3 separate regions of the Homo sapiens genome follow, and all the other regions are linked to region 1. Evidence: promoter capture Hi-C in human tissues and cell types (Jung and others, 2019). All regions are on one chromosome and are shown on one strand. Each heading gives the region's core, a stretch centred on a gene start or on the middle of the fragment in contact. The rest is flanking DNA. Distances are from core to core; before and after follow the strand shown.

Region 1 (4,566 bases), core at 2,067-4,566:
AATAATATTACAATTTGAGAAAGTATTTCTACTTTAAAGGGTGAGGCTTTATCAAAAGCAAAACTATTAAACAAACAAATACTAAGGAATAGAAGAAAGAGCTACACAAGTTTATTCATTTTCCCAATATGAGAGGGAAATAGGAAAATGTGGAATGGACAGCACTGAGAATTAAGCAGTGTCCTTGCAAACACAGTTCACATCTGAAAACCAACAGCAAAACCACAGAAAGTCACTGCTGCCTCCCACCAGCGATGAAAAGCTGTATTTATTTCCCAACAGGCAGATAAGTCTCCTTGACAGACACTAATATGGCCTACACATTCATATATTATGAGGTGAAAAGCAACTATTTTAAAAACTTCAATCTGGACATAAAATACCAACTGTGATCATTAAAGCATCTCCATTAGTCCTTGACCTAATTTTGCATATCAAATACAGAAGTTCTTGGTTTTACAGGGACTCAACTGTGGTAGATAGACAGTTTATTAAAAGACCTGGGTCGGCGGTGCTAATCAACATGCTGTTTCACCCTTACTTTATAAGTGATCACAAACAAAAATTTAGTCACAGCCTGCTAAATAATTTTAAGTTTCAAAGAAAATTTATACTTCCTCAAAAATAGTTTACTATTAAGTGTGGAGAGCATGAGAAATCCAAAATCTTTCTTACATTACCTAAGTGCTCTAATCCGAAAAGATAAAATTTACTCTCAAGATTTCAAAATAAAAAATCAAACTCAGCTAATTACTAATTTTTTTTAATAATCTGCAAAATTTTTTCATTAATTCTGTTATTTGAGTTTTCCAGCTACATCTGAAAAACTGGGGATGAAAATTCAGACACTAAACTCAGAAGCTAATTTCACTTATATTGTTACATCCTTTCACAAATTAGCATGCTAATGTGATCACAAGGAAAACAGCACAGCAGCCCTGAAGCTCACTTTTACCTCAATTTTACTTAGAGGGTGAGGTAAAGATGAATACCAGGCAAACATTTCAATTCTTAATAAATCAAACCCCAAAATGAAGTTAGTGGTATCTTAGGAAAATACCATGTTTACTGAAATTGCCAAATATAACTGTCCCATGTTGCCAAAGTCAGCAGTATACATTAATCTAAAGACAGTTGTGTGTAATCTTGGGAAAGGCAAACTAGCTGTGCTACGGGCACTGAATGGACTCTGCTGTGGTTGAAATATTTCAGAGGTGATACAAATTTTTAAAATCTTTTCCTGCAAAAGGTTTTTGGTAACCTGTAACACTTTTTCAACTACCATATTTCTTTATCTCATAAGGCAAAAACACACCGCCTCACGATTCCAGGACATGTAAGCAGTTTAACATCACTCACATTTTCAGGCATATAAATATAAAACTTCCAATAGAGTATTTTAGAACAAAGCTTTCTGCGTGGGTATGCATTTGCAAAATAAAGGTAGAGTTATTCCGACAGATTTAAATGTGCACCCAGTGATCAAATGGAGTTAGAAATTCTGTTTTGACAGTTACTTGTAGAACAGCATTTTCAACAGCGATTAATTCAGAGCTGGGTAGTAATACCATCAAAACTAAGTTCCAACTGTTGAGTAATAATATAGTTGGAAGGAAGTGTAGTCCATAAGCTAATACATGGTACCTTTAGATATGTTATAATACGTCACATTCAAAAGGTTACTCGTCTGGCAGCAAGTCTTACGTTCATAAAAGTGCCAATAAAAATGTTTTGCCATTTCAAAAAGTGATTTTTTATGAAAACAGGTGCTCTCCAAAGATGGCAATCATTTATTAAACTACTACAGTTCAAAAGGAAGATGATATAATAGATCAATACACCAGCTAAGGATCATGCAAGACTGTCCTATGAAAAACAGCATTCTGGATTACATAACACAGATAGTGAGGGATTACACCACATGCCCCTGCTGAGCTAGACTTTTGATCTTCTGTATGATTCTATAACTGAGGCCACTCAAATTTGAAGAGTATAAAATATGAGGGTCTCAGTTCAACCACACATTTCTGAAAACAGCCGTCTTGAAAACAATAAAAGAATAAAGTTAAAATTTTACCTTCCCCCGCAACACACACACAATTTTTCTATTCTGAAAAACACAGTTGTTCAGATACTTTCTTAACCTCCTTGGAGCCTCCCCAGGTAAAGTCACCAGTTGCTTTTCCTGGTCATGTTTACATTATAAATCTGATTTCTCTTTAAGGGGAAATTCAATATCATTTTAAAATGATACATAGCTGCCTATGTTTGAATAACGTTATTTCCAGACAAAAAGAATTATTAAACAGCTATCTCCACATACCTATAACTTAAATATATAGACCACTAAGTATTACGTATATGGAAAAAAAAACACCTTTCCTGAATATTCTGGCCAAAATTAAATTTCAAATACATGTTTTAGAACAATAGCTAGAATCACTACAGAAGTTAAGAGGAAAAAAAGTTGGAAGAGTAGGGTCATCTTTCAGATATATCCATATTTATGGAAACTATAGTGGGCAGTTGTATTTCTCTCTAGGAAAATGCTAGTTTTATGATTCTAGATAAAGTTGCACTTAAACACACTTGGAAATTAGAGAATTCCATATTTCCATACTTCGATTCAGTACCATATACGAAGTCTACACTCAGAAGTATTGTACTATACAGAGTCTAATTGGTTAAAGCAAAAGCAACTTTAAAATTCTGAAAATAAGGATTTCCTTCACTAACAGGCTTTTAGGAGGCCCGAACCCTGCCCCCAATGAGTGCTAAGCCTGTCAGTGTTGTTTTAAGTGGAAACGGTCAATCATTTCTATGATTTCCCCAGAAGAGGCAAGAAGATCCACACGCATACACATTTACATGCGTTGCACGGTGCCAACTATTTCCAACCAAAATAATCATATACACGTCGAGCCGAGCTATTTCTAGCCCAGAAGAGGGTGAACGTCTGGAGAGAGTCTGAGGAAACCCAGCAGGCGATGACTGCAGGGGAAGGGGGATGGCGTCTGGGTCCCCTGCCTCCCGCGCGCACAGGGCGCCTGGCACCCGGCACCTGCACGGGGTCCCCGCTGGGCATCCGGGTGCGCGCGCGCGCGCGTCCGGGACGCACCCGCGGAAAGCAAACAAGCCCTGAGGGCCAAGGCGGGCGGGAGCATCCTCGGGCGGGACCCGAAATGCCTTTTCCTACCTGTCACTTTGCCTGGAGCTGCTGCCGGGGATGCGGCGACGGCCGCTGCCTGGAGACCCAGTGTGTACGCGCGTGTGTGTGCGCGCCCGTGTGTGCGTGTGCGTGTGTGTGTCTGTGTGTGAGAGATCTTGTTGGCGGTGCAGCTCACTTACTGCTCCCGGCGCGGCGCCACCACCCCCTCCTCGCCATAAAGAGCCGCCGCCAAGCCCCCTCCCGGCGCACCCCAGTCCCGCCCTCCCGCCTGCCTCCGCACCCCCTCCCTGGCCTCCCCGCCTCCCCGTCTCCGCGCCGCGCGGTCCTTACCTCAGTTGAGGGCGGGGGTCTCCGCCGTGGCTCCCCAGCGAGCCCACGGGGCAGCGCCGACCCGCCCGCCCACCGCCGGGCCCTGCGCGTCCCCCGCTCCGGGCCCCGCCGCCCCTCAGCGGCCAGCCGCTTCCTCCTCCCCTGCCCCCGAGCCTCCCTCCTCGTTCTCGCCTCCCGGCTCCAGAGCCCGAGCTGTCGCCTCGCAGCCCCAACCTGCCCAGGCTACGGAGCATGCCCAGTGCGGCGCGCCGGGCTGGGCTGGGGGTGGGCAGGGGCCGGGCCGGCCGCCCAGTTGCCGCGAGCCCGCAGGGCGAGGAGTGGGCGCCGACTGGGTCGGGGGCGCAGCCTCGCGAGCCGGGGGCCGAGCAGCCGAGGCAGGTGGTGGGCAGCGCCAAGAGGAGGTGGGTGGGGCATCCGGGGAAGCCGGCCCGCGGCGCGCTCCTCTGGGGTCTCCCTGGCGGCTCCCCGCGGCATGTGCCCCATGCCCAAGGGTCGGGGGCGCACGGGATGGCGCTGGGCGCAGAACCCAGGGAGCGGGGGCAGAAAAGCGGCACCCTCCTCGGATGGGAGACCCGCAGCCCGCCGTGGGCCGTGTGGAGGGGCTCAGGACTGGCCAGAACGGGGCCCCCAAAGCCGTTGGCTGGGTGGGGGACGTGCTTATTTGTTTATATTCGGTTTCATAAACCCATACAGCGCCTACAATGCGTCCTGCAGTGTTCTAAACGCTTTTTATTCATTTAATCCCTAAAACAATCTTCCAAAGAGTACTACTGCCTCTTTTTATTTCGCGGGTCTTACACAGAGCCACAGAGATTAAGTGGTTCCAAAAAGTCTTCCCACAAGTGCAACCTCAGACATGCAAATCCCCCAGACTTTGGTCCCTGGGATGCTGGGGTGCTGCTCCAGCCAGTTCCTGGCTTTTCCCGGCCCTACAACGGCCCCCAGGTGCCTCCGAGTCACACTCACACCCAGGCCCTAATGGTGTTCGGTCTGGCATCACCCTTGTGTGGACCCTCACAACGTGCTGCTCCCGAACTCCGGAGGGCTCCCTCCTCCCCACTCCGCCT
Region 2 (4,566 bases), core at 1,427-3,926, 190 kb before region 1:
CCATTAATTATTACTTTTACTTTGTCAAGGTGATATCATGTTCTGTACTATCTATTTTTTACACGTTTTTAAAATTGGATGAATAACATTTACAATATGAAAATTACATAATTGTTCTCTGCAGAAACAAGTGGTAAGTATAAATGCAGAGAGAAAGCCATGCAATATTATCACTAAAGTTGTGCTGCTCAAAAAACATTAACAAAGAAAAACTGAGAAGAAGGAGCCCTCTTAAACAGTATAAACTACATCCACTCACTCAGACCATTCCATTTCATCACACTTCCTGTTAGGGAAATGTCATTTGCTTTTAGGATTTCTGAGTTCCCCAAAAATCCTATTGTAATTTTGCCAACTTTTTGTTCTGCTTTAAAAGATTTGCCAAATAACTATTGTCTTAGATTTTTTTTATTGCATTCCTTGGTCTAGTTTTTCCACCTGGTCTCGAAACCCATATTTCCTTCTTTTGTTTTATTGAGCTTACACTGCATTAATTCTTTTAGGAATGATCTGGGGTGATCAAATAATGTAGATCTTACTTGTCTGAAAATGTGTTTATTTCACCTTCCTGGTAAATGTGCAGTATGTCTGAGAACAAAATTGCAGGTTCAGAATAATTTTACCTCCAAACCATGAAGTCATTCCCTTGTCCTCTAGTCCTCTAGAAATTATCTTTTTTTTTTTTTTTTTTTTTTGAGAGGAAGTCTAGCTCTGTCACCCAGGCTGGAGTGCATTGGCGGGATCTTGGCTCACTGCAACCTCCGCCTCCCGAGTTCAAGCGATTCTCCTGCCTCAGCATCCTGAGTAGCTGAGACTACAGGCACACGCCACCACACCCGGCTAATTTTGGTATTTTTAGTAGAGACGGGGTTTCACCATGTTGGCCAGGATGGTCTTGAACTCCTGACTTCATGATCCACCCACCTCGGCCTCACGAAGTGCTGGGATTATAGGCATGAGTCACCATGCCCGGCCTAGAAATTATCTTTGTGGTCAACTTTCCACCCCACTCCCATTTCTGGACTCTTTTAACATCCTCTCCTTTTCCTTGCTATTCTGAAATATCGTGAAAATGTGTTTAGTTACTGGTCCACTCAAATTCTTTTTCTTATCACTTATCAAGTGATTATACATGCATATTATCTAACATTTACATAAAAATGTGAATAATGTTATTTAATTTTCCAACTCAGATGGAAAACAAGCTGCTAACACTAGAGATACTTTAAAAGACATGCTGCCCAGGGGAGATGATGATCCAATGCTAAATTAAAACATCTGTGTGTGTGCGCATCTTTATTTCCTCCACTTTTTTTCCCCTCTATTAGAAGATGTAGGACCACGTGGAATGATTCTCTAATGTCTCCACTTTCATTAATTTTTTTTTCCAACTCTTGGTTCTTTGTTCTGTTTTCTAGAAAAGTTCTGCATCTTTTCTTTCAGCTAATATGCTGTTTTTAAAAGTCAACAATCAGACTTAATTTCCAAGAATCCCTTCTTGCTCTTGAAGTCCTCCTTTTCATAGGAGTCTGTCCACAACTCCCTGATAAAATTTAAATTTATTTTAAAGTTCCATCTCTTCTCTGATTTCTGTTTCTTCTGAATCAGTTGGTAAATTTGTTCATGTTAAAATTTATATTTTAGTTATCTACTTTTCCCAATACTGTTGATTCTGGTTCGTTCAGTCCTGTTAGTGAAAGATCTCGAAGCCAAAAGGAAGGAATCTTGGTCCAAATATGTATCTATGTGGCTTCTTCATTTGTACCCATCAAAATGAAGATCTTTCCATTTCTGGCCAAGTCAGGAATAGTTTTTGATGAGCCTGTCATCTTGGAAGCCCAAAGAACCATGAAACATTTGGATTAAAATTTGGCTTTCTTACTGCAGTTTTCAGAATTATAGCAGATGAGGGTCTATCGTACATTATTTCAGGGTCAAGATTTATCTGGGCAATAAAGGGTTATAGTTCTACATAATTATATGGCTACATTGAAACAGATTCTAGAATTAATTTAGTATTATAATTAGTTGAAGAAAATTTCACTCACATTTAAAGCTTAACCAATAAATGAATGTATTTATTTTCACACTATTCTCACTTGTGTCATTTTAGGACATTCTACTAAAGCAAAAAGACACAATTAAAATCATGCAGTTACCTCCATCCTTTCTTATTATGGTAGTCTACACCAAAGAAAGAGCAAGTTACATGCCCTGTTTCCAGAAACAGAATAAATACTACCTCTAGGAGGAAAGGAAGTATCCCAAGATATTCAAGTTAAGAACTAAAATGATCTCTGTGTGCCTATTTAATTGCTCTTCTCTCATACCTGTATCAGATCTATATTTTAAGAAAGTTACTGAGTAACTGTTTCTTCTTAAGATTCTCTGAGTTCATAAAATCTTGCTCTTAGATGGAATCATCCTCCATGAGAACAATCACTTGCCCACAAACCTCAATGTGCAAGTTGCCTTCCATTTATGTCAACTTCACTCTTCCCTCAAGCCTTGCTACTCAGCATACTAGAGTCACATGTAAACAAAGTCCTCCAAAACTAAAATCCTCAGGAAAATAGGAAAATGTATTTCTGAAGAAAACCATTCTCAAGTAATTATATATGCACATTATACAACATTTACATAAAAATGTGAATAATGTTATTTAATTTTCCAACTCAGATGGAAAACAAGCTGCTAACACTGGGGATACTTAAAAAGATATGTTCCTCAAGGGAGAAGACAATATGATGTTAAGTATCTGTAACGAAATATAACAGCCACCAAACAAGAACAGATGCCTCAGCAGATGGTGTGCAACTTGCCCACCCAACATCCTTTCTCCTGTTTTTACAGGGTGATGAAAATGAATCCAACTAAAAATACTTGCTTCCTGAGTCTTCCTTACAATTAGGAGTAGCCTTGTAACCTTGTTTAGCCGACAAGAGGAATGTCGAGATTTGCAGGGGTAAGTTTCTACTTCTCTAAGAGAGACAATTCTCCCTGCTTTCTTTTTTTCTCCTTGCTGGGAGTGTGCATTTGACACTGGAGGTACAGGATGTATCTCGCAACCATGAGACAATGAGCATCAGGGTGAAGGCTCATCAACTAAGGATGCTGGAGAATAAACATGGACAGAGTCTGGATCCCTGAGGGAATCACTTAGCTCTTGAACCAGCTCTGGACTGCCTACCTCTGATCTTGTTACAAGGGACAACAAAGAAGCTATGTGTTCCAATGCTTTGCTGTTCACAAAACTCATTCCTGATTAACGCACTAGCAATATCTGAACCTTAGTTGCCCCTCCAGACATATGTATACGAGAACTTTAATGCTTGACCATAATAGAGATGACTTTCTCCTTTATAAAACTTCCTTTAAATCTTAGGTACACACTCTTGATCCCTTACTAAACACTCTTCAAGTCTGAAATATTTCAGAATTCAGAAAGGTAATATGGTGTGTGTATATATATATATATGTTATGCAATAGTCCCAACAGATCTGAGTATCACCTTTTAGTCTAGGCAGTTGACAAACTATGGTCAATGGGCCAAGTCCAGCCTGCCACCTATTTTTGCAAATAAAGACTTATTTGCACTCAGCCACAACTTCATTTATGTACTATCTATGTCTGCTTTCATGCTACGAATGCAGAGTTGAGTAGCTGCAACAGAGATGGTATGGTCCACAAGGCCTAAAATAATCACTATCTGGCCATTTACAGAAAATGTTTGTGGATCCTTATCAAATACATAGGTATTTATGGAGTGAAATCTATGGCTATTCACTCTAAGTGGGATAAATAAAGATTATATATTACCATCTGTTGGTTTGGGCATGATTTTGCCATTAAATTTATGCTAAACTTACAAAAAAAAAAAAAAACTAAGTTCAAAGTTTTACTGCTTCCAGAATAAAGAAAAAAAAAAGACTGAAGACCTGTAGTAGAGAGGAGAGACAAGTTAATTAGGCTGGTTTAATCCACCATGGAATGTTCAACTCAATGGCTAGTTCTTTAATGTCTAAAAGCCCAGCACGCCTACAAAATCCTATTGGCTGAGGGCCTCAAGGAATAAAGAGGCAGCATACTGCAGTGAAAAGAACAGAAGCTAACAAGAAGAATGACTTTGAATCTTACAATTCTTATGACTTTGGGTATATACTGCTTTTCTCTGAGTGTTTTCAAATCTGTCAAATGAAACAAAAGTATTAGGAACTCTGCCTAGGGCCATAGAGGATGATGAGATTATTGGTGAGCGCACCATTAACAGGGCAAGGTACAACACATCCATGTCTTATCTATAGTATTGGATAAATTAGATATACTTCACTATATGAGCAGGTATAAATATATATTTTACTAGATATGTGTATTTATTATTATTATTTGGTTTATCTCTTTTACTGACTAGAGTGATTGCAGAAGAATCAAAATTTCTCTGGCCTTCCAAAATTTGAGGTGGTTCTTCTTGACATTTCTTAATTCTAATACTAGAAAGTTGATAGTATACTTTTACTACTTTGCTGTTCTGCACATAATTTGAATCATATGGATATTTCTCAAGG
Region 3 (4,566 bases), core at 1,164-3,663, 150 kb after region 1:
AATGATAAAGGAGAATTAGAATTAGTGGCTCAGGTTTGGAAGAGCCTGATGCCTCTGTCTCCCACCAGGGAAGTTCCTGTCTCTGGGATCGGATATGCTTTCTGTGGGCTACAACTGCAATGTTCACTTTGATCCAATGGTGCCAAGGTGGACACTGCTAAATTTTGTCATTATCAAACTGGTTTTGGCCAGGCATTATAGGCACATGCCTGTAAATCCAGCACTTTGGGAGGCCAAGGTGGGAGAATTGCTTGAGGCTAGGGGGAGTTTGAGACCAGCCTGGGCAACATGGAGAAACCTGGTCTCTACAGAAAAGCAAACAAAAATTAAATAGAAAACTTAGCTGGTGTGGTGGTGTGCACCTATAGTCCCAGCTACTCGGGAGGCAAAGGTGGGCAGATGACTTGAGCATGGGAGTTTGAGGCTGCAGTGAGTGGAGACTGTTCCACTGCACTCCAGCCTGGGAGACAGAGTGAGATCCTGTCTCAAAAAAAAAAACAAAACCAAAAAACAAACAGACAACAACTCTATATTTTTATGTGTTTCCAGGGCTAAGCTATTTCCCTTCTGCTGTGCACATCTTTCCTTTGATATGTTAATACATTTAATCAAGTCCTCATGCCCTCAAGCTAGTCTGCTTATTTCAATCCTGGTAGTGAGTAGGGACTTCCTCTTGGGAGCTAGGTCTGCTCAGAAGTGCACAGGAGAAAGCAGAACTCAGGTTTAAAATTTCAAGCAGAGCCTATGAATAAGTTTCAGGAATTTACCAAAATTGTACACAAACCCCTGGGTATGTGTGAGCATTTTTTTTAGGGACAGAATCCAGATATAATCAGATTCTTAAAGGGTTGACGACCACAAACCAGTTTTCAGGATTCTATTGCTTTCCATCAAGTCTCCAATCCATTGAGTATATTGTGCTGCTTTCTGTATAAAATTTATTTGAGAATCAGCTAAAAAAAAAGACAGAATCGCATAGGACCTCTAGAAGTGATTTATCATTTCATTTATTATGCATTAACTGAGCACCTACTATGTGCCATTCACATTACTAGGCACTGGCATATGAAGACTAAAATGGTATATGATTGATCAAGAGCTTGCACTCAGGTAGGAGAAAGAGGCAAGTAAATTAATAGATGCTGCTAGCATGCAATTAGAGAGATGTGCATGTTGAGTGCAAAAAGGAGAATCTAAATTGTGCCAATTAGGCTTCTGGGAAGAGCAAACTCTTGGGAAAATATTTTACAAAGTTACAGAACATTATTTAGTCTGAGAAATGGGGTAGTGGATGGGGATAATTCTGGTAGAGAAAAAAATATGTATTTAAAGACAGAGCTGTGAAATCATATGACATGCTCTGATTAGAGCAGTGGAAAAGAAAGTCATAGGGGTAGTTTAGTTTAGGCCTTAGTTACCAAGCTAAGAGTTTAGCAGAGGAAAGGAATAACAAGACATGTGTTTCAGAAAGCTTATTCTTTTTTTATTTTTTATTTTTTATTTTTTGAGGTGGAGTCTCACTCTGTTGCCCAGGCTGGAGTACAGTGGTGCGACCTCAGCTCACTGCAACCTCTGCCTCCCGGGTTCAAATGATTATCATGCCTCAGCCTCCAGAGTAGCTGGGACCATAGTCACATGCCACCATGACTGGCTAACTTTTTGTGTTTTTAGTAGAGATTGATTTTCACCATGTTGGCTAGGCTGGTCTTGAATTTCTGACCTCAGGTGATCTACCTGTCTTGGCCTCCCAAAGTGCTGGGATCACAGGCATAAGCCACTGTGCCCAGCCTCAGAAAGCTTATTCTGCAAGCACTGTGGGACGGATTGTTTGGGGCAGGGTGAGGCTGAGGTCTTTACCAATGGTGATGTGGTATGGGGGTGGGGAGGAAGAGAATGCAGACTAACACAATGCTTGGGAGATGTTAATGGAGAATGGGGAATGAACTTGGAGATTAATTGTGTATGGGTAAGAGGAAGTCCATGGTGAGTCCCAGCTTCTGCACAGAATAGTTTGGATGATAGACAAGGATCTAATTCACTTGAATATGTTTGGAAAAGGATTGTGGGTTTAACGACAAGCATATTTAAGGGGGCTGAAGAATTGGTGGATATCCAGGTAAAGAGATATTTAATAGACCTTTGCATATAGGTTTGAAACTCAGGATAAAAAGCATGTCTAGAAACATTGACTTGGGAATTTTTAACGTATATGTGATAGTTCAGTTTGGATGAAGGTCCCAATGAAAATATATAGAATGAGAATAAGAACCAAATAGAGAATTCTGAGATGTGCTGGAATTTGGAGATCAAGGGAAACATGAAGATTCTGGAAAAAAATTATAGTGAGAAGGATAGCCAGAGAGATTTAGGGGGAGAAAAAGAGGTAATGGAAAAGGAGGTATCAACAAAGGAGCGGTCAATCATGTCAAACCTTGCAGCAAGGTCAAGGAAGCCAAGGGCAGAAAACATCATTGGTTTGGTAGCTAATCCATTTGTCACTTAACAGGTGCATTTTCTTTGGCCTGGTGGGAACAGAAGCCGGACATGAAAAGGCAGTGAGTAAATGAGAGACGAGAAAGCAGAGGGAGCTAAGAAGCTTGGCTAGGGAGAAAATGAGAGAGCACGGACTCATGGAAGCAATTGTGAGATTGAAGGAATTGGTTTTGTTGTAAAGATTGGAAAGGATTTAATTACATTGACTCACCTTCTACTCAGGATCTGTAAAAGGAACGATGGAGAGTGAGAACAACTCTGAGTTTGTCTCTACAGTAGGAGAGGCTGGGGTCCAAAGAAGGAACACAAGAATTCACCTTGGCCTTGAAAACATTATGCGAGGTGAAAGTGTAATTTCCTGATAGGCTCTTCTTGCCTGATGCACAGATGGAGCTATTCGCTGAGACAGTGGTATTGCAGTAGAGAAAGAGTTTAATAAACACAGAGCTAGCCAGATGGAAGAATGGGAGTTTATTACTCAAATCAGCCTATCCAAAAGTTCAGAGGCTAAAGTTTTTCAAGGATAGTTTGGTGGGCAGGGGGTTAGAGAATGGACAATGCTGACTGGTTGGGTTGGGGATGAAATCATAGTGGATGGAAGCTGTCTTCTTAGGCTGAGCCATTTCCTACATGGGGGTCACAGGGCCAAGTTGAATCAGATCCTTGGTATGGGTAGTTAATCAATTGCCAGAATGAAAAATAATGAAAAATATCTCAAACACCAGTTTCAGGTTTTGCAACAGCAATGTTATCTGTAGGAGCAATTAGGGAAGTTACAAATCTTGTGACCACCCATATGAGACCCCTGAGCAAACACAATGACTAGTTATCTTTTAACTATAAGCAGGTCTTAGCAAAATTCAGACCTCTCCCGTAATTCTAATTTTGTGGCTTCTCATTAGTTTTATAAAGGTGGTTTCAGTTCCCAAACAAGGAGGGAGTAGTTTTGGGAAGGAGCTATTATTATCCTTGCTTTATGGTTAAAACATGAACTAAATTCCTCCCATAGTTAGTTTGGCCTATGCTCAGGAATGAGCAAAGACAGCTTGTAAGGTTAGAAGCAAGATGGAGTCAGGTATATCAGATTTCTCTCATTGACTTAATTCTGCAAAGGTGGTTTCCATGGAAGCCAGATACAAAAGGCCACATAATGCACGATTCTATTTGTATAAAATGCTACAATAGGCAAATCTATAGAGACAGAAAGTAGATTAGTGGTTTTCAGGGGCTGTTGGGAGGGGAGAATTATGAATGACTGCTAATGGTATAGGGTTTTTGTTTTTTGTTTTTGAGAATTTGGTAGTGGGGATGGTTGCACAACTTTGTGAATATACTAAAAATCACTGCATTGTACACTTTAAATGGATAAATGTGATGGTGTGTGAATTGTATCTCAATTTAAAAAAACTTAAAAGGAAAAAAAAAGAATTCTCTTTGGTTGGAGGAGAGCCTTCTTAATCCTGAGGCAGGAATGCCAAGAGGAGTATAAATGACATGTTTCTATTGGCAGGAGGCAGGGCCAGCTACATGATTTGTGGGATTCAGTGCAAAATGAAAATTGAGGACCCCTTCTTCACAATGATTAAGAATTTCAAGATAGTTACTGCAGAGCATTAAAGCAAGCACAGGGCTCTTCTAAGTGTGGGGCTGAGAAGACCCTTAGAAACCTTGTGTGGTTACACAGGTTTTGCACATTTATGAACTAGCCCTGGAGGAGGCAGAGCTCTCCAGATGGGCTTTCTTATGGAAATAAGAAGTGAGAGGAGGTACTAAAGCTGCTGAAATGAGAGAAAGGGTGACATTTGGAACTGTCCTTGAGGGGAATTAGAGAGAAAATCAACTATGGACTTGAAAGAGAGTTACCAGGCAAGGAAGAAAGCTAGGCATTGGTTGGAGAGCATGAATTTGTAGGAGTATCACTGTGATTTTTCACCATTGGTTCTCAAAAGACCAAATATAGAACTTAAAACAATGAGGAATGGTAGGAATAAAGTTTATCTGGGCAAATGTGATTGAAGATTAAAGGAACAAAGGAATAAAAGTTAATGATTAAACTAATTGAAATTAATAGAT

The links. The method cuts DNA at HindIII sites, captures the fragments that hold promoters and counts their contacts. A contact is called where the count stands out against the background at its distance.
Region 2: a fragment that was not itself captured here is called in contact with the fragment with the promoter of PLCB4 in region 1 in 1 of the 25 tissues and cell types used here (dorsolateral prefrontal cortex).
Region 3: a contact is called between a fragment that was not itself captured here and the fragment with the promoter of PLCB4 in region 1, in 2 of the 25 tissues and cell types used here (H1 embryonic stem cells and stomach).

Annotation. Positions count from the first base shown.
Region 1 is chr20:9,067,837-9,072,402 of GRCh38, reverse strand. It overlaps PLCB4 (phospholipase C beta 4), which reads right to left and starts at 3,316. Exons shown (of 40, transcript NM_001377142.1): 1 at 3,197-3,316. The HindIII fragment of the contact is 12,704 bases long and covers 619-4,566 here.
Region 2 is chr20:9,254,844-9,259,409 of GRCh38, reverse strand. The region is part of intron 3 of PLCB4 (phospholipase C beta 4); the gene reads right to left. Among named protein-coding and RNA genes, the nearest start is that of PLCB4, 190 kb to the right of the region's middle. The HindIII fragment of the contact is 6,822 bases long and covers 1-4,566 here.
Region 3 is chr20:8,913,350-8,917,915 of GRCh38, reverse strand. No RefSeq gene overlaps it. Among named protein-coding and RNA genes, the nearest start is that of RNU105B, 84 kb to the right of the region's middle. The HindIII fragment of the contact is 4,398 bases long and covers 215-4,566 here.